Regions from separate parts of the Homo sapiens genome. Here regions 1 and 2 are each linked to region 3. The links are contacts of gene promoters, found by promoter capture Hi-C in human tissues and cell types (Jung and others, 2019). All regions are on one chromosome and are shown on one strand. The core of a region is centred on a gene start or on the middle of the fragment in contact, and the rest is flanking DNA. Distances in the headings are between cores, read along the strand shown. Region 1 has its middle 34 kb from the start of SLC46A2. Region 2 overlaps SNX30 (sorting nexin family member 30). Region 3 holds the start of ZFP37 (ZFP37 zinc finger protein).

What was found. Contacts are between HindIII fragments. The study calls those that stand out against the background at their distance.
Region 1: a fragment that was not itself captured here is called in contact with the fragment with the promoter of ZFP37 in region 3 in 6 of the 25 tissues and cell types used here (IMR-90 fibroblasts, lymphoblastoid cells, mesenchymal stem cells and 3 more).
Region 2: a fragment that was not itself captured here is called in contact with the fragment with the promoter of ZFP37 in region 3 in 1 of the 25 tissues and cell types used here (IMR-90 fibroblasts).

The regions. Positions count from the first base shown.
Region 1 is chr9:112,923,242-112,925,941 of GRCh38, reverse strand. No RefSeq gene overlaps it. Among named protein-coding and RNA genes, the nearest start is that of SLC46A2, 34 kb to the right of the region's middle. The HindIII fragment of the contact is 4,076 bases long and covers 1-2,700 here.
Region 2 is chr9:112,836,689-112,839,413 of GRCh38, reverse strand. It overlaps SNX30 (sorting nexin family member 30), which reads right to left. Exons shown (of 9, transcript NM_001012994.2): 6 at 717-916. Among named protein-coding and RNA genes, the nearest start is that of SLC46A2, 53 kb to the left of the region's middle. The HindIII fragment of the contact is 6,299 bases long and covers 1-2,725 here.
Region 3 is chr9:113,055,318-113,058,114 of GRCh38, reverse strand. It overlaps ZFP37 (ZFP37 zinc finger protein), which reads left to right and starts at 1,391. Exons shown (of 4, transcript NM_003408.3): 1 at 1,391-1,558. The coding sequence starts at 1,427. RefSeq lists an enhancer at 1,191-1,760. The HindIII fragment of the contact is 44,168 bases long and covers 1-2,797 here.

The DNA of each region.
Region 1 (2,700 bases), core at 131-2,630, 130 kb after region 3:
CCACATGATGCCCCTAAAGCTCCTCTAGCACACCACAGTGCATCATGTCAATATTATCACTTTCTATGTATGCTAATAATCTGAAAAATACTGGGAAGCTGGGAAGCACCGCTATAGATTCACTAAACAAATAATACAAAGCTTTGCATTCTTTAAAATTGAAGGTTATGTTCCAGGAAGATTAAACAGCAACTTTATAATGAACAGTCCAAGGAGAAATTTAGAAAGTGATTTACCTCCAAGAAGTAAAACCCGCTGACATGTAAATATCTTTAAAAAGAAGAAGAAAACACCGTTCCTCCTCAAAGCTGGTCTTATTTCTATGCTCCTCAGTTTACAATGGCAGCCATTTTCCCTCCCTTCCTGGGGAAAATAACAACCAGCCCATTATGGTGAATTCTCACAGTGACTAAGGTGGTCCTTCCCTGTGGTGTGAGCACTGTGAAGTTAGGTGTCTAGCATAATCCTGTGAGTTTTTATTTTGACATGTTTGAGCCACTTAAGGATAAATTACAGAGCACTGTGTATCAAGATGACAAAGACAGTCTCAAATTCATTAAAGTGTTGTGGAGGGCAGCGGGTACTTGAAAATTCTAAACAGGATTTGTCGACACGAATATTTTTCAAGAGATTACACAGGTCACTCGATATGGCAGAAGGGAAAACATGCTTTACAATGGTGACATCTGGCGGTCACCATCCAAATCAAATGATTAAGCATCATCAATAGTGGGGCAATCTGACATTGTGTCTCCTTATGTGATACAAAATGACTCCCACCGCATCGCCTACGACACATTCTTGCTAAAAATGTAAACTTGAACTTAAGCCTTTAGCCCTAGTCTCCAATTTAGAGGAAATTCAAGGGATACAGAAACAGGTTAAAAAACACTGTGAGAAAATTATCAAACAAATCCAGAAGGTGGGGTGTTTAAAAAGATAATTGTCTCTTTAAAAAGTCAGTATCATAGAAGCAAAAGTCAGGGGTGTAGAAAAACGTGGGAGCACTGTTCCCAGGGCACTGTTGATCACTGATCTATCACCTGAAGTTTCTATAAACGAAAATAGAACTGCATATTTTGGTAGATGAAGTGAAGAAGTGTAAGTTGTCTTTTCTTTCATTGCTTCTCCCAGTAACTTCAGCCAGAAGCAGCCTCTCCAAGGTTTAAAAATGGTCAACTTCTCTTTGATTTAATATCTCCATCTATAAGATTATTACAGTCGTCCCATAATTTGGAAAAGATTGAGAAGAGCTGATTGCAACAGTAACACAGTGCTCCTAAGGGTATAGTTCTGAATGGTCACCCTCCCTTCCTTCCCCTGATCGCAGGCAATCTCCAGGTTTCCATGGGCCCCAGAAGAGCAGGGAATCAGATCTGGTTCCAGTGGCCATCACCTCACAAACAAAACAATTGTCTCCATTCCTTCCCGGAAACCCACTCCACTTTTTCCTTTAAGCCCTCAAAACAGAGCCAGACTGTTTTCCCTTTCCCCAGACAATGGGGCTACTCACTTGTCCCCCTCCCCAAAAGGAGGCTACACTCAGGGACTCCAGGGGAACCCCTGTCTTACCTTCTAAGGAAGGATACCCTAAGTAATTTTTCTAAGGGACCTACTCTTTCTTAGGGAGCTTCTTCAGAAGCTACCTCTAATAAATACAAGGAGTGGAATGATTGGTTCATTGTAACAGAAGATTGGTGGGGGAAGAGGACCTACAAACTTAATCTCTAGTAATACATCATCTCTGGTAGGATACACCACTATATCTTATTCTGAAACATGATTTTTATTTAACCTAAAAAATAATATGAATTCACACCTTCTAAGTCAGCAAACCTCAGAAGGGAAAAAATAGAAAATAACAAGTGTTGGTGAGGATACAGAGAAAGTGAAACTCTTGCACATTGCTGCTGTGAATGTACAATGGTGAAGTCGAGGTGAAAAACAATTTGGCAATTCCCCCAAAAGCCCCAACATAGAATTTCTGCACAACCCAGAAATTCTACTCCAGGGTATACACCCCAAAGAGTTAAAACAGGAAATCATACAAATATTGGTCCACTCATGTTCATTACAGCATTGTTCACAGCAGCCAAAATGTGGAAACAACCCAAGTGTCCATGAACAGATGAATGGATAAATAAAATGAGGTACAAGCACACAATGAAATGGATTCAGCCCTAAAAAGGAGTAAAGTTCTGACCATACTCAACATGGACAGACCTTGAAAACATTATGTTAAATGAAATAAGCTAGATACAATAGGACAACTTAATTTTTTTGAACCCATACATATTTATTGATAATCTATCTTAACCATGACCCAAGTTAATGGACAATACAAGAGGTTTGCATGTAACCCAGAAGTTTGCAAGTTACAAACTATAGAACAATCATTTGACATAAGACTCAAAGTCTGTCCTTCAGCTCCAGACCCCCAAACCTCATCCCAGCCCTTCTTTCCAAGACAGGGTGGTCAACCACTTGCTAGGCCTCTAGTGATTATTTGCTTCCTTTGTATGTGTTTTCTCCTGATTAAAACAGAAACATTAAATCATGATTCTTGTGATTTGTGTCCACATTTCCAGAGCAGCTGATGCTGGTGCGCTAACAGCTCAACCTTCACCCAGCCCTCAACTCAACTTGGCCAGATTCCAACTAGGGGCTTGACTCACCTCATTTTTTGGTAACAAAAAATGT
Region 2 (2,725 bases), core at 55-2,554, 220 kb after region 3:
TACATCATCTGCCCCTCCCTCTGCTTTAAAAAGCTTTCAAATTCGTATCACTTTTGTTCTAAAATTCCACAATAATATGCTTTGGGCTGGTGATCTTTTCAATCCTTTTGCTGGGCAATTATCATGTCCTTTTAATCAGACGATTTATGTCTTCAGCTTTGGGGGACTTTCTTGTATTATTTCTTTTACAATTTCCTTCCCTCAGTCTTCCCTGTTCTCTCAGGAACTCTTATCAGTCGGATGCTGAACCTTTGGGATTAATTCCCTATGTCTCTTTTCTTTCATATTTTCAGTACTTTTGCATTTTTGTTCTATTTTCCAGCAACTTTTGTTTTGTCTTACTTTAAGATTTCTTCAATTTCACCTTCCAACTTGATTATTCAGTTTTATTTCAGCAATCATGTTTTAACTTCCAAGAGCTCTAATTATTACTTTTCCATGGCATCTTTGTTCTTATTTCATAGGCATTATATCTTCTTGAACTCTCAGAGAAACCAGTAAGAATTTCTTACCAAACTTTTTTTTTTGTTTAATTCACGTACTTCGTTCACCATGTGTTCCATTTATATGTCCATGATGTCAGTCCACGTGTCTGATCCTGCCCACCCAGGAAGAAGGAAACTTATATCACATGCAAACAGGCAATAATCCATTACTTTCTGATAACTGCTATTACAAAGAAAGTATGCAAATACACAAGAAGCAAGCCAGCTTACCTTCATGGAGTCAGAGTATAAAATATATTCCCTGAGCACAGGTAGGAAGTCTTCTGTCATGTCATCTGTCAGCTCTTCTAAGGCTGTAGAGCAGTTCCCAATGCAAGCTGACACACCCTCCAGGGGTTCAGCCAGCTCACCCTCCAAGGCGCTCCATGTGGAGTACACAGGCCCGTATTCTCTCAGCTCCACAAGGTACTCTGAACAGGGAACAGAAACTAATTAAAATCTGGCTGGGTAGCAGTTGCTGCTATTACTGACTCAGTAATCACCACAGCCAAGAGCTCTCTACATGAACATGTGTTTCTTTGGCCATTCACTCACCTGATCCCACTCTTCTTTAAACACAACACTGTTTCTAGCACAACTGCTTAAAAACCTCTGACAGCTCATGTTACATCAATCCATTCCATCCCGTGATGGGAATGCCATCCCTCTGGATAATGGGCCTTATGGGGAAAAGCAGTAGCAGCCACATCCACCAAACATCTTCGAAAATAACCACTCGCTGGCCTGGTGGTGGCTCATACCTGTAATCCCAGCACTTTAGGAGGCCAAGGTGGGTGGATCACAAGGTCAGGAGATCGAGACCATCCTGCTAACACAGTGAAACCCCGTTTCTACTAAAAATACAAAAAAATTAGCCGGGTGTGGTGGCAGGCGCCTATAGTCCCAACTACTCAGGAGGCTGAGGCAGGAGAATTGCTTGAACCCAGGAGGCAGAGGTTGCAGTGAGCCAAGATCACTCCACTGCACTCTAGCCTGGGCAACAAAGCGAGACTCCGTCAAAAAAAAAAAAAAAAAAAAAAAGAAAAGAACCACTCGCCTACCCATAGTGTGAAGCAGTATTTTAACAGGCAATGGAGGCAGAGTTTCATATAGGTTTAGGGAGATGTTTTTAAAGGTTAAAAAATAAAATCAGGGGCCAGGCACGGTGGCTCACACCTGTAATCCCAGCACTTTGGGAGGCCGAGGTGGGTGGATCATGGGGTCAGGAGATCGAGACCATCCTGACTAACATGGTGAAACCCAATCTCTACTAAAAATACAAAAAATTAGCCAGGCGTGGTGGCGGGCACCTGTAGTCCCAGCTACTCAGGAGGCTGAGGCAGGAGAATGGCGTGAACCCGGGAGGCGGCGCTTGCAGTGAGCCGAGATGGTGCCACTGCACTCCAGCCTGGGCGACAGAGCAAGACTCTGTCTCAAAAAAAAAACCAAAAACCAAAAAACGAAAAACAAAAACAGTCACAATGGATAAACAATGGAATTTTAGGAAACATTTTGATACAAGAGATGTGGTCTTACACTGGCAGACTCACTCTATCACTCGGTGGCCACCTCAGCCCCTTGGATCCCATCAGAATTTACTCTGCAAGATCCTTAGGTGTGGATGGTATCCACAGCTATCTCCAAAACCTATGGGCCCCACATGGTATCATCAGTGGGTCAAGTAGAGGGAACAAGTACAAGAAATGAGAAAAAAAAAATGTTGATTTTTTTCCCCCGTAAAGAAAATCTGGCCCATCATTTGTCACCAAGAGTCTTGCCATTGTTGCAACAGAACACAGTCATCATGGCTTAGTGACCGATGAATGGCAACTGCTGGGGAATCCTCAACGTGCTTCCCATGCCAGTGCGATCATTTACACTGCTCACGTCTGTCCGCCCCATGCATATGTAAGGAGATAAAAGATCCCAACATTATGGGATGTGGCAAAGCAGGTGGCCCCGAGAGGGGTGGGAAGGAAGTGGAGGCAAAAACGAGGAAGGATCAATACAGGCCCTGGCAACTCCCCCATGCAGGAGTGGGTTTAAAATGAACCACGGTGGGGTGGGTGAGTCAATTACAAGTCTGAAGATTCATCAGGGTCATAACTTTGGCAAACACAGGTCTCCATGCTATCTTTCTGAACCATCTTTCTGCCAGAAAAGGTATCTAAGTTTGTTTACTAAATTATTGTTCCCTATGGATGAAGGGCAGTTGAGTCTATGTCTCCACTTTTAAAGCT
Region 3 (2,797 bases), core at 142-2,641:
ACAAATTATCACCAGCTTTAGTGGATTAAAGTATCACAAACCTATTATCTCACAGATTCTGTAACCTGGAAGTCTGTGTATATCATGGTTAGGGTGATGGTTAATTTTATCGGTCAACTTGACTGGGCTAAAGGATGCCCAGAAAACTGGTGAAACATTGTTTCTGGGTTTGTTAGTGTGTTTCTGGGAAAAGATTAGCATTTGAATTAGCAAACTGAATAAAAAAGCCCCCACCAATGTGGGTGGCCACCACCTAATCCACTGAGGGCCTGAAAGGACAAAAAGGAAAAGGAAGGGTGAATCCTCTTTTCTATTTTTTTTTAATCTTTAACTTTTGTGGGTACATAGTAGGTGAGTATATTTATGGGGTACATGAAGTAGTTTGATACAGGCATGCACAGTGCAATAATCACATCATGGAAAATGGGGTATCTATCCCCTCAAGCATTTATCTTCTGTGTTACAATCCATTTATACTTTGTTATTTCGAAATGTACAACTAAATTATTATTGGATATATACACCTGTAGTGCTATCAAATACTAGGTCTTATTCCTTCTTTCTTTTCTTTTTTTTTAAAAACCCGTTAAGTATCCCCACTTCCCTCCCACCTTTTCTTTTTTCTTGAGCTGGGACATTCATCTTCTGCCTTTTGACATTGGAGACCCTGGTTTTCTGGCCTTTGGACTCTGGACTTACATCATCCCTACCCCTCTCCACTCTTTTTCCAGTACCTTGCATAGCGCAGCACCTAACCTGCACATATTCAATGAATGCAATTAATGCATGAAATGGCGCATTAAGGAATTATTTCTCCAAGTGCTTGATTATTCTGGTGAAATATCTTCACCAAACCCGGGCTCTCACGGAGGAGTGGTGTGTTTACTTAAGTTTCTGTTTCAGTTTTTCTTATTGTTCTTATACTATATATGAAAAGATTTATCGTATATCTCAAAGATTAACGTCCTCTCCCTATAAAATAATGTTATTTGTTCGATCAGGCTTTTCTCCGTTATGCTTCCAATTTCTCGCATCCTGCCTTTCTAAAGTCCGCACTAAGCGTTGTGATTCCCGGACTTCTAGCCGCTGGCCGCACTGACATGTATTCGGAAAAGCAATTCCAAATTCTGTAAAATATCTTCCGGCAGTGATGCGATCCGAACTCCGGCAGTGGGTTGTCAGGCCCAGGTCAGTCCTGTAGTGCGTAACGGAACTCGGTTCCGGCTGGCTCTGATCGCATCACTCCTGCATCCTGCAAGTAACGCCCTCGCCAGCTTCCACCTCCCGATCTAATTGTCCCAGAAGTCCCCGCACTTCCGCTGTACGGCTGAGTGTTTGCCAAGATGGCCGCGCCCGTGCGCTATTACCGAAGGGCGCCGCCATCGCGGCTGCCGGACCCGCTAAGGCCGCCCTCCGGGTAGCCGCCATGTCGGTCTCCAGCGGCGTCCAGATTCTGACAAAGCCAGAGACCGTGGACCGGAGGAGAAGTGCGGAAACGACCAAAGAGGCCGGGCGACCACTGGAGATGGCTGTGTCCGAGCCCGAGGCCAGCGCCGCGGTGAGAGCTGTGATGAGACAGGGTGTTTTGGCGGTCAGAGATGGTGTACTTGCGGGGCAGTGATTGGAGTAGTCTGTGACGATAGGTGATTTGGGAATTGGTGGAATCGATGCTAGATGGTCTTTTGGGAGGTCGGTGTTCTGAGTTATCTGTGGGGTTAATGATTTGGCTTTAGGATATCAGTATTAGGAGGGATCTGCAGAGACAATGATGGGGAGGCGTCTGTGGCAGTCACCGAGTGTCGGAGTTTGGAAGGAGATCAGAAATGGAGGCTTTGTGATGTGTCAGAGATAGGGAAGGACCGTGGGGGTTGGCGGTTTGGGATGTCTATGGGAGCCAGCGATTATGGGTGCCTGTGGTGGTTAGAGCCTGGGTTATCAAAGAGGGTCAGTGTTAGGATTTGGGAAATTCAGTGATTGGGAGCATCTGGGAGCATCAGAGATTGGGGCTTGGGAGTCAGTGACGGTGATGTCTGTGGAAGTTTGATTAGCAGTATCTTTGAGGGTCAGTGGGTAATGGAGGAATCGGGGGGCCAGTGAGGGGGGAATATGACTGTTGGAGTTTGGGGAGTCAATGTTGAGGTGTCTCTGGGGATGGTAGATGATTTGTATGTCATCTGGGGAGAAAAGGTAATTGGGGATGTATGCAGGTCAATAATTAGGTGGTGTCTAGCAGTAATAACTGTGCTTTGAGTAATGAGGTGATTAGTAGGAATTAATGATTGAAGATCCTCTATGATTCTGTGACTAGAAGTCTAAGGGGGTCAGGAGTTTGAGGGGATTGCTGCATTTAATGATTGAGGGTTCTTTGGTGGTCAGTGATTGGAGATCTGTGGAGGTTAATGATTGTTCTGTGGAGAGTGATAGTTGGGAACTTGCAGAGATCCATAATTGGGAGAAGTTTGTGAAGGTTAGTGATTGGGGAGTATTTGGGTGTCAGTGATTGAAAACTTGCAGGAACAGTAGGAACAGTCTGTAAGATGAGCATTTATTTTATGCCAGGGGGTATTTTTTATTTTATTTGTTTGGTGTTGTTGTTTTGCAGTCCCTGCTTTGTCCTCAAAACCAGGGAATGTTTTAAATGCTGGAGACACACCAGGAAACAAAACCAGAATCCCTCCCTCAATGACTTACATTATAGAAATATGAAAGATATCATAAAATATAAACAAATAAAATTATTCCAGACACTAATAAGTGCTGAAGTAAGTAAAAGAGGATGGTGTGGTACAGAGTGATT